Linked DNA regions of Homo sapiens: regions 2, 3, 4 and 5 are each linked to region 1. The links are contacts of gene promoters, found by promoter capture Hi-C in blood cells and fetal thymus (Javierre and others, 2016). All regions are on one chromosome and are shown on one strand. Each heading gives the region's core, a stretch centred on a gene start or on the middle of the fragment in contact. The rest is flanking DNA. Distances are from core to core; before and after follow the strand shown. Region 1 holds the start of DCTN4 (dynactin subunit 4). Region 2 overlaps LOC124901115 (a long non-coding RNA gene). Region 3 overlaps CCDC69 (coiled-coil domain containing 69). Region 4 overlaps ANXA6 (annexin A6). Region 5 overlaps NDST1-AS1 (NDST1 antisense RNA 1).

What was found. The method cuts DNA at HindIII sites, captures the fragments that hold promoters and counts their contacts. A CHiCAGO score of 5 or more calls a contact.
Region 2: a contact is called between a fragment that was not itself captured here and the fragment with the promoter of DCTN4 in region 1, in 1 of 17 cell types (naive CD8 T cells). The highest score is 5.3, in naive CD8 T cells.
Region 3: a fragment that was not itself captured here is called in contact with the fragment with the promoter of DCTN4 in region 1 in 1 of 17 cell types (fetal thymus); the score reaches 5.0 in fetal thymus.
Region 4: a contact is called between a fragment that was not itself captured here and the fragment with the promoter of DCTN4 in region 1, in 4 of 17 cell types (naive CD8 T cells, naive CD4 T cells, fetal thymus and 1 more). The highest score is 7.3, in naive CD8 T cells.
Region 5: a contact is called between a fragment that was not itself captured here and the fragment with the promoter of DCTN4 in region 1, in 1 of 17 cell types (neutrophils). The highest score is 6.5, in neutrophils.

What each region holds. Positions count from the first base shown.
Region 1 is chr5:150,757,719-150,760,286 of GRCh38, forward strand. It overlaps DCTN4 (dynactin subunit 4), which reads right to left and starts at 1,299. Exons shown (of 13, transcript NM_016221.4): 1 at 1,141-1,299. The coding sequence starts at 1,275. RefSeq lists enhancers at 575-644, 1,075-1,374. The HindIII fragment of the contact is 18,997 bases long and covers 412-2,568 here.
Region 2 is chr5:151,247,753-151,250,320 of GRCh38, forward strand. It overlaps LOC124901115 (a long non-coding RNA gene), which reads right to left. Exons shown (of 3, transcript XR_007059003.1): 3 at 1-1,927. Among named protein-coding and RNA genes, the nearest start is that of GM2A, 4.1 kb to the right of the region's middle. The HindIII fragment of the contact is 3,862 bases long and covers 1-2,568 here.
Region 3 is chr5:151,208,262-151,210,829 of GRCh38, forward strand. The region is part of intron 1 of CCDC69 (coiled-coil domain containing 69); the gene reads right to left. Among named protein-coding and RNA genes, the nearest start is that of CCDC69, 15 kb to the right of the region's middle. The HindIII fragment of the contact is 3,784 bases long and covers 1-2,568 here.
Region 4 is chr5:151,123,033-151,125,600 of GRCh38, forward strand. ANXA6 (annexin A6) reads right to left here. Exons shown (of 26, transcript NM_001155.5): 15 at 1,254-1,335. Among named protein-coding and RNA genes, the nearest start is that of ANXA6, 33 kb to the right of the region's middle. RefSeq lists an enhancer at 813-1,313. The HindIII fragment of the contact is 3,901 bases long and covers 1-2,568 here.
Region 5 is chr5:150,478,165-150,480,732 of GRCh38, forward strand. All of the region lies in intron 2 of NDST1-AS1 (NDST1 antisense RNA 1), which reads right to left. Among named protein-coding and RNA genes, the nearest start is that of NDST1-AS1, 6.5 kb to the right of the region's middle. The HindIII fragment of the contact is 7,537 bases long and covers 1-2,568 here.

The DNA of each region.
Region 1 (2,568 bases), core at 49-2,548:
TTTCTTGACTATTCCTATTATGAAAAGTATCTTCAATAAAATAAGTTATTAATAACACATAAAATGGCTTATAGTATGTGTTTTCATATGCATTTATTTTAACAGTCCCGGGATCTTCAGTAAAAAACACTCTGAGTTAGGCTGTTTAGATTCAAATCCAGGTCCTCCTTCCCACCCCCAAATTACTGGCTGTGTGACTTACAGCGAACACTCTGTATCTGTTTCTTTACCTGTAAAAAAAATTTTTTAAAAAAAGTATCCACTTAAATTGGTTTGAAGATTACATAAAGCACATGACATATAGCAAGTATCGAATAAGCAGCAACTATTACTACTATCAGCTTTTTCTTCACTAAGACTATGGCTTATTAAACAGCGCATTTTATGTCTTACTCGCCTTTTAATCCCTAAAGCTTACTGAATAAACAAGATGTGCCAAGCGCTGCAGAAGTTTTGGGGTTTTGTTATTTGGTGACTTTTTACTGGCCGGGGTCTTCTTTTTGAAAAATCCAACTTCGGACGCCCACTTGTGCCAGGGAAGGACAGCATTGTCCTCTAGCTCCATAAATACACTTTCAGCTTCTTACATGACATACTGTATTCTGAGCGCTTTTCACATAACTCACGCCGCCCCAACCTCTTCCCGGCTGCAGGCCTTGGCCTGAGTCAGGAACAGGGCAAGGCAGTCTGACGAGGGCCCAGTTTCTGGACAAAAGAGGAACAGAACTTTCAGGATGGGAGAACTATGAATGAGAACGCCTGCGCCTCCCTCCATCCTCGCAATAAATCCTGGAAAGGCAGTTTTTCGCCCCTTAAGTGGCCTGAACTAAGCACCCCCAGACCTTTCTCCGTAGTCCACCCAATTACCAAGCCCCATCGCAGACAGACACGGTCCCTAAGTCAAGTTTGTCCAATCAGAGGCCGCTCTAGAACCAGAAGATCCGCTCAGTCCCACCCGAGGCTGCTCCTCCTTTCCAAGTGACAGATTAGAAGCAAATTAAATCGCAGGCAAACCCGAGTGACGGAAGACATAACCAATCAGTAAGGAAGGAAAATAGCTCCAGCCTTCCGGTGGCAGTGACTAGCATGAACGCCGCGCCCCCCCCACCCCACATACTCGCTATAGGGCGACTCTGTTACCTCGTGAGACACACATTCCAGCGACCGCAGTTCGCTACAATAGCGGCAGAAGTAGAGTTGCGAGAGCGGGGCCCGAACCTTCTTTTCTCCCTGGACTAGATAGAGAACCCGGTCCGACTGCAGCAAGGACGCCATCTTGGGGAGGGAGGAGGCGATGACGCTCCCGGCGCATCACGTGACCCGAGAGCCAGCGTCTTCCTCGCTGCCTTCCCTACGACTTCCTACGTAGACTTTGACGTTAGGTTTCCCACCTCGTCCGGCTCTGCGCCCGTCGAAAACCAGAGCGCGCGTGCGCAGCTGGGATCCCTGTTTTCTCCCCAACTCTGGGCCCGTCCCCCAGCGCTTTTGTGAGCGTCCACTGCCCTTACTGCCATTAGGTCTGGACTCAGTGAGCTCCTTTTATTCTTTTCTTCCAGAATGGAAGCCTGATCTTTTGTCTTATTTACGACGGCCTCCTCTGCCCCACTTAACAGGCGAGCATCCAGGAGACAAATGGAAGGTCTCAAAGGGACAGGGCTCCGTGGGGACTGCAAGACAGGAGTCACACCAGCACTGTCTTCTGAGTCTTGCCAATGGCCTTTGGGAACTTTCACATACATTATCTCATTTGAAACGCAGGTTTTTGAGTACATAGTTAGCGTTAGGTCTAAGTCTGTATTGTGGACCTTCAATAAGTATGAAAAGGAGGGAATGAAATCAATGAATGAACAATGTTGGTAGGCGTCTACGTTTTTCTAATGTGTAAACTAAGGCTCAGGTCTGCCTCTTGGGTGAGCAGCGACTACGTGAGACTGGTATTACATGGGTGGGAAAATAATTTATCAACAGTTTTAGGTAAAGAAATGCAGATTTATTAGAGAAGGTATGAAAATACGTTGAAAGGTTGCAATGGGCAGACCAGCCAGAGAGGAGCTGACTTCAAGGAAACAAAGGCTTGCTGGAGATTTTATCCGATGGTTCTTGGGCTGCAGAGTGCTGTGCAGTACCGAGAACTCCAAGGTTACAGGGAGCTAACTTGCATGTGTCTCGTGATAGCTGAGTGCAGGAAGATTGTGAGTTATTTGCACAGGAGGGCTACGTGTCCTGCACCATGAAGAAAGGCAGACTTAGAGTGCATCTGCTCTTCTTGCTATCCCTTGGTCCCACTAGCCTGACTCCCTTTCTCTAACTGGGACTCCCCAGTATGTAAAATGACCACCTAGAACTGCCTAGCAGAAACTGGAGCCTCTGTTGCCTGCCACCAGGTCTACATTTTTATAATTGTAGTAGTGTTGTATTATTACCTGTCTGACGTTAGAGTTGGTGATTGAGAAGAAAGGGAACTGAATACTATTAGCAAACATTTATTGAGCACTTATTAAGTGCAGCACACTGTGTCAAAACTTTACATACATTGTCTAATTTAATTCTTACAACAGCTCCAAAAAG
Region 2 (2,568 bases), core at 27-2,526, 490 kb after region 1:
GACATTGTCTGTATTTTTGACTATTAGCAATTTCACTGGGTGATGCTTAAATTGTAGTAGTGCCCTTATTTTAACCATAATCTCTCTTCCCAGCAGGGGGATTGCGTAGCTTGATACTACTAGGCACTCCTGTTGGAAGATTCGTTTCTCAAATTGACAAATCAAAGGAGGAGTAAAAAATCTGGTTTGTGGCTTCCCTTCCATTCCCATAACACTCATGGACCAGGAGGGAAGTTTCCCTGCATAAGCAGTAAGGACAGTGTAATTTGCCCCTGTAACAAAAAGAAACTGAATTTGGGTGCCCGTGACATCCAGAGTTACTCCAGGCTCCCCAGTAGTAATTACAAAGTTCCTGGACAGGGGCAGTGAGGAAGACCCCGGGCCCCTTCAGTCTTCATCTGATTCCTCCTTTCGCACTGCTAGAGTTTTGCCTAACCCAGCCCCTCAGTGGGAGCAGAGGCAATCAATTCTCCAGTGCCAGGGTTCGTGACTGGTGCCTTTGCGTTGACAGCAGGGGCCTGAGGGGAGCTGGAGGGCGGGGGCTTAGTACATTCCTTTGCCCAATGCCCGCTTTTCTTGCATTTGAAGCAAGACTTGCCTTTGCTGGTATTATCTTTATAGTCCTTCGGGTTTCCCTTAGATGCTCTTTGGGCATTCAGGGCATCACCAATGATGGCTGCCATAATTTTGGCTTGCCGTCTTTCTTTACTCTGTTCTCTTTTTCCTTCCTCCAGGTCATATTGTTATACACCATAAAGGCAGTATTAAGAAGCTGATTTTGATTAGCTTGTGGCCCCATCTGTAGCTTTTGGAGTTTACGTCTGATATCTGGGGCAGATTGGCTAATGAAATGCTGTGCCATTAATATTTTGCCTTCGGGAGAAGAAGGGTCCAGATTAGTATATATTTAAAGGCTTCCTCCAGCCTACCATAAAACATGGCTGGATTTTCCTCCTTGCCTTATGTAACCTCCCTTACTTTATCATAATTTACTGCCTTAGTTAATCCCTTTCTCATTCCTCCAAGGACAGCCTCAAGAAATTTAGCCAGGTGGTTCATTCCCATGGGGGCGTTATAGTTTCAATTAGGATCAGTAGTGGGAACTGTGTCTGGGCCTCGGTAATTGCCCTGAGGGTTTCAGGTGGATAATTCATCCACTTCCCTGCTGGCAGCCTCAAAGATTTGTTCCTTTCCTGAGGGAGTGCCAACAGGTTGCTAGAATGAATTGACCATCTCTCCATGAGAGATCAAAGGCTAAGGTCAAAGTGTGGAACTCATCTGCAAATTTCCTAGGATTCTCAGAACAGCTTCCTAGCTTTTCCTTACATTGTTGAATATTAGTTATAGAGAAGGGGGCCTGCACTAGGACTGGCCCCTCAACTCCTGCTACTTCCCTAAGGTGTAGCAGGGCTGGAAGAAGAGCTGAATACAGGGTTCCCCTCCGAATGTGAGGGGGACTTAGTAGGGTCTCTGGTGTTTGCTCCTGGGGTTGAGCCTCAGGAGCACTTGCAAGGGGCTATATGGGGGTGGTCACTGTTCACTCTGAGAGACAGGTGGCCCTTGTAAGAGGGGGTCATCTATAATATGTAGTTCTCCCTTAGAACTTTCCTTTGTGGGGTGGGTTCTGGGAGTTTCACAGATTGTTAGGTTTTGGTAAAGCGTCATGGAAGTCTGCATGTACAAGATTTCTGACCATGTGCTCTGTCTCTTGCAAAATAGGTCTAATTGCAGGATGATGTCATAATTAAGGCTACCATTGACTACCCATTTTTTCCAGGCTGGGCAGCTCATAATGGAGCCAGACAGTACTGCAGAAAAAAATTATATGTTTTCTCTTTAGATTGTCAGGGTCAAATTGATCGCAATGGTGGAGGACGTAGCCGAGCGGGGAATCAGGTGGAATAGGTAGAGAGTTGCCCACAGTGGTCTGGAAAAGAGAAGAGGACTGACCAGGTGACCCAAATTTTACCTGAGGCATCCTCCTGGAAAAATTCTGGGCCCAGACTGGGGTCCCTGGGAGCATCTCCCCATTAGGGCCCTGACTTAGCCTGTTAGATGTCTCTGACCTTAGATAGGTGCAGGCATTGCTTTGGAATGGTTCCCTCCACCACTGAAGACCTACTGTGAACTTTCCTTAAGGTTTTCCCATGCCACTTAAAGCAACTTTTTTTTTTTTTTGAGACAGGGTCTTGCTCTGTTGCCCAGGCTGGAGTGCAGTGGCATGATCTCGGCTCGCTGCAAGCTCTGCCTCCCAGGTTCATGCCATTCTCCTGCCTCAGCCTCCGAGTAGCTGGGACTACAGGCGCCGACCACCATGCCTGGCTAATTTTTTGTATATTTAGTAGAGATGGCGTTTCACCGTGTTAGCCAGGATGGTCTCAATCTCCTGACCTCGTGATCCGCCTGCCTCGGCCTCCCAAAGTGCTGGGATTACAGGCGTGAGCCACCGCAGCCGGCAAAGCAACCCTTTAACTCTCTCAATTTAGGCAATAATAGATTACCTTTCATGAATTCCCCCCACTCCCCATGCATCACACAGACCACCTACGACATGCCTGGACCCTCTGA
Region 3 (2,568 bases), core at 46-2,545, 450 kb after region 1:
AAACAAAAACACAAGTCAAACTATGAAGAGGCTATGAAAATGTTCGACAAAAATTATTAAAAATGTCCTAAACTGAAGAACCACTGAAATACTTCTAGAAAGCATGCTTCTCACTGGGGAGGGAAGATGTATCAAGGGAAGTCTTCTAGAATAGCCTGCTTCTCCCCCATGGTGCTGGGCACAGAGCCTGGCATGTGTAAGCCCCTGGAGGACTGAGGGAGTCATGGGGCCTCCCCCAGGTCCTCGTGCCCCAAATCTGCTGAGTGGCTGGGCAGACCTGACAATTTAGCTCCCCCACCACCCTGGTGAAGACTCAATCCTCCCTTTCCAGGGAAGAGGAGGAAGCCTGGTCCAGGCACGACTCAGAGAAGCTGTCAACTCCGGAATCTGGGGAAGTGACAGCAGCCAGCCTCCCCACCCTGGGCTGGAGGAAGAAGGGAGATAAACATAAATGGTTGTCTCTTCCTTGTTGCCACGACTGATTAGCTGAACTCAGACAATGTTTTTATGGGAGCCAGAAGGCCTAGATTCTAGTGCCAGCTCTGTTACAAACTTGGGCAAATCCCTTCCCACTCTGGCTTCTGCTTCCTCCTCTGTGAGGTGGGGATGAGGACGTCTGGTGGTTTAACTGGATGATCCCATAGTGTTCAAACTCTAAGCTCTCATCTCAGCTCCTCTCAACAGCACTGTGAGGTAAAGGTCACTACAGGCGAGGAAACTGAGGCTCAGGGAGACTTAAGACACTGTCACACTGTGCCATAATGTTCAAATCAGCATTAGAACCAGGTGTGAGAATATCAGAGACTGCAGAGCAGAGTGGTTAAGAACTCCAGAATTCTAGAATCACACAGATCTGGGTTCAAATACTAAATCCAACACCGTGTGACTGTATGACCTCTCCATGCCTCGGATTTCTCATGAGGCTCTTTTAGGATGAGATGAAATAATGCAACTGCAGTGTCTTGCACATACTAAGAGCTCAAATATTGCATAAGACGATTGCCATGTTTCACAAACATGGCAAGAACAAAGATCCCACGTCATCTGCTTTGGCAGACCTCTTGGGCTGCCCCTGGGTCTCAGTTTTGTCATCTGAAATAAGTTCATAATCTCATGAAATGCTGCCTTCTTTCAGATAACCACCACCAGAGAATGGTGGAGAACTCTTTTCCACAAACAGCTTTCAGACCACAGGCAGCACGTGGCCTTGTACTTGAGTCCCCAGCTCTTGACAAAACAAGATAACTCCTTCAGAATGGCAGTTAAGGCTATCACCATCTGTCCCCAGTCTACCCCCATTCCAATTTCTTTCTTTTTCTTCTGTCTTTTTTTTTTTGAGATGGGGTCTTGCTCTGTTGCCCAGGCTGGAGTGCAGTGGTGTGATCAGGGCTCACTGCAACCTCCGCCTCCCAGGCTCAAGCAATTCTCCTGCCTCAGCCTCCCAAGTAGCTGGGACTACAGGCGTGTGCTACCACACCTGGCTAATTTTTGTATTTTTGGTAGAGATGGAATTTTGCCATGCTGCTCAGGATGGTCTCGGACTCCTAGGCTCAAGTGATTTGCCTGCCTTGGCCTTCCAAAGTACTGGGATTACAGGCATGAGCCAAGGTACCCAGCCTCAATTTCTTAATACTTAAATTATTTATAAACATCTTCTTCCAGTTAAAGTACTAGTAGGCATTTGTTGTAGAAAGTACAGAAAATACATGAAAATATAGAAAGAAAATCTCACGACCCAGAGAGAACCCCATAACCTGGTGGCATATATTGTTCATCTACATATACATATGCAATGATATTACATATACTTCCTCATATCTTACTTTTTCAAATATATTACGAGCACTTACTACACAGCATTAACTATTCTGCAAATGTGTTAATTTTAATGATGAGCAGAACATCCCTATGGATGAATTTAGTCATTCACTGTTGAGTGTTTAAATTGTTTCCACTTTTTAATTTGCAGGTTAATTTGCTTTAATAAATATATTGATTTAGGCCAGGTGCGGTGGCTCATGCCTATAATCCTAGCACTTTGGGAGGCAGAGGTGGGTGGATCATTTGAGGTCAGGAGTTCGAGACTAGCCTGGCCAACCTGTGAAACCCCGTCTCTACTAAAAATACAAAAATTAGCCAGGCGGTAGTGGCATGCGCCTCTAACCCCAGCTACTTGGGAAGCTGAGGCAGGAGAATTGCTTGAACCCAGGAGGTGGAGGTTGCAGTGAGCCAAGATCGCACCACTGCACTCCAGTCTGGGCGACAGAGTGAGACCCTGTCCCAAAAAATAAAAAATTAAAATTAAAATTAAAAAATAAACATATTGATTTGTAAAATTTTATACACATCTAATATTACATGTCTAATATTGGAAGGTTCGACCAATTTACTCACCTTCAAATGGCACGCAAGAAGATCAGTTTCAGCTAGGTGTGGTAGCTCACACCTGTAATCCTAGCACTTTAGGAGGCCGAGGCGGGAGGATCACTTGAAGCCAGGAGTTTGAGACCAGCCTGGCCAACATGACAAAACCCCATCTCTACTAAAAATACAAAAATTAGCCAGGTG
Region 4 (2,568 bases), core at 38-2,537, 370 kb after region 1:
CCTCAGAAGAAGGCCTGTGGCTCTCGGCTTTCCCCATGCACCGCCCACTGATGGCCCCTCATCGATCTTTGTCAGGGTAGAAGCCTGGCTAAGCGGCCATGTGCTCCTGAGTCCCTGCAGTCCGCTTGCCTATGGCTCAGGCCACTGATTTCTGCTGGACTCCTCCCTCCCTTTCCTTTTGACACGCTGAGGAAAAAGGACAGCTGGGAGGTAGAGAGCACTGGGTTGGGAGTCAGTGCCTCTGAGTTCTAGTTCTGGCTCTGGCAATGGCTGCCCACCCTGGGCAAGTCCCCTTCCCTTGATGGGACTTGGTTTCCACATCTGTAACATGAAGAGGCTGGAGTAGTCACCAAGGGATCCTTCCAACCCTGACAGTCCAAGTCCTGTTAGCAACTCTATGTCCTTTCTCTTCAGCTCTCTGGAAGCTGGACCCTGAGTCCCTCTAACCACAGCAGGTTGACTCTGGAAGGCATTAGAATATCACTTCCTGCTTCTCAGATTAATGCCATCAACCACAGACCCAGCACAGGGGTCTTTCATGGCATTTTTACCTCTAGCATCCTACAGTCCCAGGCGAGCTTGGCAGGTATCATCATTCCCATGAGACACATGGAAAGGAGGCTCAGGAGGGTGATGGACTTAACCTAAAGCCTCCTGGGAGTTGCTGTCAGACAGATGGGGCAGAAAGGCAAAGAAAGCCAAACCCTAGATGGCCTGTCCCAGGCTGGACTTTCTGAGCACAGGCCCAGCTGATCTGAACCTGTGGGTGCAGTACTCTTCCCACTGGTGCCAAATATAGGTCTGAAAGACCTGCCCAGCAGGGCACACTCCCACCACAGAATGAGGGAGGGCTCTTGGGTTCCAGGGTCCACAGCCCTGATTTTACACATAGGGAAATTCAGACCCAGAGTGGCGGAGAGGCTCACCCAGAGTCACACGGTGAGTCAGCAGCAGAGCCAGGGCACCATGCCAATTTTGTGACCTGGTACTTTCTTCAGTGCCAGGATACTGCTTCCAGGAGGCTGGGGGACACCTTGGTCCCTGGAAAGGGCTTCTGCCAAGTTCCTTATGAACCCTCTCCTGCCCCTCCTCTCTATACTCTGGGAGCTAGGAGGGTGGAAACTTGAGATCAAGCCTTCCTCATCCTGCAGACTCTAATTTGAAACCTCACTCCATCCCCTGCCAGCCCACGGCCAAACCCACCACACCTGCTGCCCTGGAGACCAACCCTGCTCCCTTCCCATCCCCCATACCGAGTCCCTTCATGGCTTTCCGCAGCGCTTTGGCATCTGCGTCAGGGTTGAAGTCATTGGCTGGGCGCACAGTTCCCTTCAGCTGTGAGAAGCAGAAAGAGACTCAGCAGGTGTCTGAAGGCCCCCCTGGGGACCAGGCTGAAAGACAGCATGCGAGGGTGGGAAGCTCACCCCATGAGCCCAAACCAAGCGGCGTGGGTGGGGAAAGAGGCAGAGGTGAAGCCACAGCAGACAGACCCTGCACGAGAGCTGAGAGAGAGAGAGAGAGAGAGAGAGAAAGAGACAGAAAGATATAGAGAGAGGGAGAGAGGGACTCAGGGCTGGGAGCAGGGCAAGTCCTGATCAAGAGAAATTGGCTAGGCTCCCGCCTGCCACGGGATCTGCCTCGGTTCTAGTGCCCCTTGGCTGCTTATTCCACCGGGGCATCCCCAATTCTTCTGAATCCTACCCTGCCCCCGAGGCCCCCTCTGCCTCTTAAAGAGTCATTCCCCCTGAAAAGGCAGCAGAAAAGTTCTGAAATACCAGAACAGAGTTTCCCAAATTTCAGTCACTCCTAAAGGACTTTCACTATTCCAAATTAGCACACACACTATGCCATCTCTTAATGGTTTTATGTAATTCAACTTCTTTTCTGTCTACTTAAATGCATCAATTTTTGAAGTGCATTTAAAATTACTCCCAAAAGGCAAGGAATTGTATCCGTTTTATCCTGTTACATATCCCAGGTGCCTACAACAGTGTCTGACATAATAGGCACACTCAAAAAATAATTGTTAAGTGGATTAATGAGGCTTGGCACAATGGCTCATGCCTGTAATCTCAGCACTTTGGGAGGCCAAGGCAGGAGGATCGCTTGAGCCCATTGGTTCAAGATGAGCCCAGGCAACATGGTGAAACCCTGTCTCTACACAAATTAGCCAGGTGTGGTGGTGTCCACCTGAGGTCCCAGCTACTTGGGAAGCTAAGTGGAAGGATCACCTGAGCCTGGGGAGGTGGCAGTGAGCCATGATCATGCCACTGTACTCCAGCCTGGATAACAGAGTGAGACCCTGTCTCAAAAAAAAAAAAAAAAAAAGGAATGGATGAAATTAATTTTATATAACTACCATGAATTAGGAAGTTGATACCATGTATCATAAACTGACAATTTACCACAAAAATCAACATAATAAAAACAAAAGAGGTGATATACCATGAAATTTAACATGATGCCTCTACTTGCCAGAAGCTCTGAAACTTAAAGCGAGCTCTCTCAGCTTTCTCTTTGTGAAAAAGGAAAATCAGCAAGTGTTGCAGAGACGGCGGCACCAAACCA
Region 5 (2,568 bases), core at 47-2,546, 280 kb before region 1:
GCCTCCCAAGTAGCTGGGATTACAGGCACCCGCCACCATGCCCGGCTAATTTTTTTTTTTGTATTTTTAATAGAGATGGGGTTTCACCATGTTGGCCAGGCTGGTCTCGAACTCCTGACCTCGTGATTCACCCGCCTCGGCCTCCCAAAGAGCTGGGATTACAGGCGTGAGCCACCGCGCCTGGACTTTTTTTTTTTTTTTTGAAACGGATGGAGTCTTGCTCTGTCACCCAGGCTGGAGTGCAGTGGCGCAATCTCGGCTCACCGCAACCTCTGCCTCCCAGGTTCAAGCGATTCTCTTGCCTCAGCCTCCCGAGTAGCTGGGATTACATACGTGCGTCACCATGCCTGGCTAATTTTTGTATTTTTAGTAGAGACCAGGTTTCACCATGTTGGCCAGGCTGGTCTTGAACTCCTGACCTCAGGTGATCCGCCCGCCTTGGCCTCCCAAAGTTCTGGGATTATAGGCATTAGACACTGCACCCGGCAATTCTTTTTTTTTTAAGAGACAAGGTCTCACCCTGTTACCCAGGCTAGAGTGCAGTGATGTCATCATGGCTCACTGCAGCCTCGATCTTCCAGGCTCAAGTGATCCTCCTACCTCAGCCTCTCAAGTACCTGGGACCACAGGCGCACAACACTATGCCTAGAGTATGTATGTATGTAGAGACGGGATCTCCCTATGTTACCCAGGCTGGTCTTGAACTCCTGGGCTCAAGTGATCCTCCTGCCTCAGCTCAGCCACTGTGCCCAGCCTCTGCAAAATTTTTCTTTTTAAATTAGGTGGCACGTGCCTGTAATTCCAGCTACTCAGGTGGCTGATGTGGGAGGATTGCTTGAGCCTGGGAGGTCCAGGCTGCAGTGGGCCATGATCACACCACTGCACTCCAACCTTGGCCACAGAACAAGACCCTGTTAAAAAAAGAAAGAAAGGAAGAAGGGAGGGAGGGAGGGAGAGAGACAGAAAAGTAGCTTGCTGGGAACTGGTGGTGCTGGCTGAAGTAGGCAACAGTGTTTGTTTTCAGTTACTTTTCACTTTCATTGTTCCAAAGACCAGCCCCAGCCTCCTAGGAAACAAAATTGTTACAGACTAAAACAACGTGGTTACACTGCGTTGTATCTTCCTATGCATTACGGCACTTTCTCACAGTGGACCGTATAGTCTTTGAGGACAGGAACCACATCTATCTTATTCATCTCTGTGTCTCCCTATTTCCCTTCTGCCACCAGGATGGTGTGAGGAAGACTATAGAAGAGGCACTAATAATTGTTGAATGAAGAGTGAAGTACCATTGATGGGCATTTTGTTAGGTAGACAGTGTCCTCTGTTTCATAATGAACCTGTGAACTTTCATTTCATCTGTTTATTCAGCAAGTATGTGCTGGTTGCCTACAATGTGCCTGGTGCTGTTTGGGGCACTGGGGCTCAGGGCGTCTGAGACACACACAGTCCTGCCCACATGGAGCTCACAATCTAGAGGGAGAGAGTGGCAGCTGACAGGTAACTACGAGGGTGATAAAGAGGGAGATGTGAAGTGTATACAGGAAGCCTGGTTTGGATTAGGGTCTGAGGAAAAGCCCAGGAGGAAATTAAGTTTAATTGGAGACTTATAGCTGGGGATGGTGGCATGTACCTGTGGTCCCAGATACTAGAGATGCTGAGATGGGAGGATTGCTTGAGTGCAAGAGTTTGAGGCTGCAGCAAGCTGTGATCTTGCTCACCGTACTTCAGCCCAGATGACACAGCGAGAGCCTGACACATTTAAAAAAAAAAAAAAAAAAAAAAAAGGCTGGTAATCCCAGCACTTTAGGAGGCCGAGGCAGGCAGAGACAGGCAGATTGCTTGAGCTCAGGAGTTCAAGACCAGCCTGGGCAACATGGTGAAACTCTGTCTCTATAAAAAATTAAAAATTAGCTGGGCTTGGTGGCATATGCCTGAAGTCCGAGCTACTTGGGAGGCTGAGGTGGGAGGATTGCTTGAGCCTGGAAGGTCAAGGCTGCAGGGAGCCGTGATCACACCACTGCACTCCAGCCTGCAGGAAAAAAAGAAAAAAGAAAAAAAGAAAAAAAAAAATCTCAGACCTAAAGGATCACAATGAATCATTCATCTAACATTTAAACAGTCAACCCTCTATACCCACAGATTCTGAATCTGTGGATTCGACCGACCATGGATCGAAAACATATTTTAAAAAATTGTCTGTATTGAACATGTGCAGACTTTTTTTGGGTCATTATTCTCTAAAAAATATAGCAATTCTTTGCATACAATTTACATTGTATTAGGTATTACAAGTAATCTAGAGATGATTTAAAGTATATGGGAGGATGTACATAGGTTATATGCAAATATTAAGCCATTTTATATCAGGGATATCCACACATTTTGATATCCATGAAATGTCCTGGAATCATTCCCCCATGGATACTGAGGGACAACTGTAACTGTACAGTGCTTGTCCTATAACAGATAACACACTAAGGGCTTTACATATTTAACTTATGTAATTCTCACAACAGCCCTGGGAGGTATGTTGTACTATTATTATCTACACTTTAGAGAGGAGGG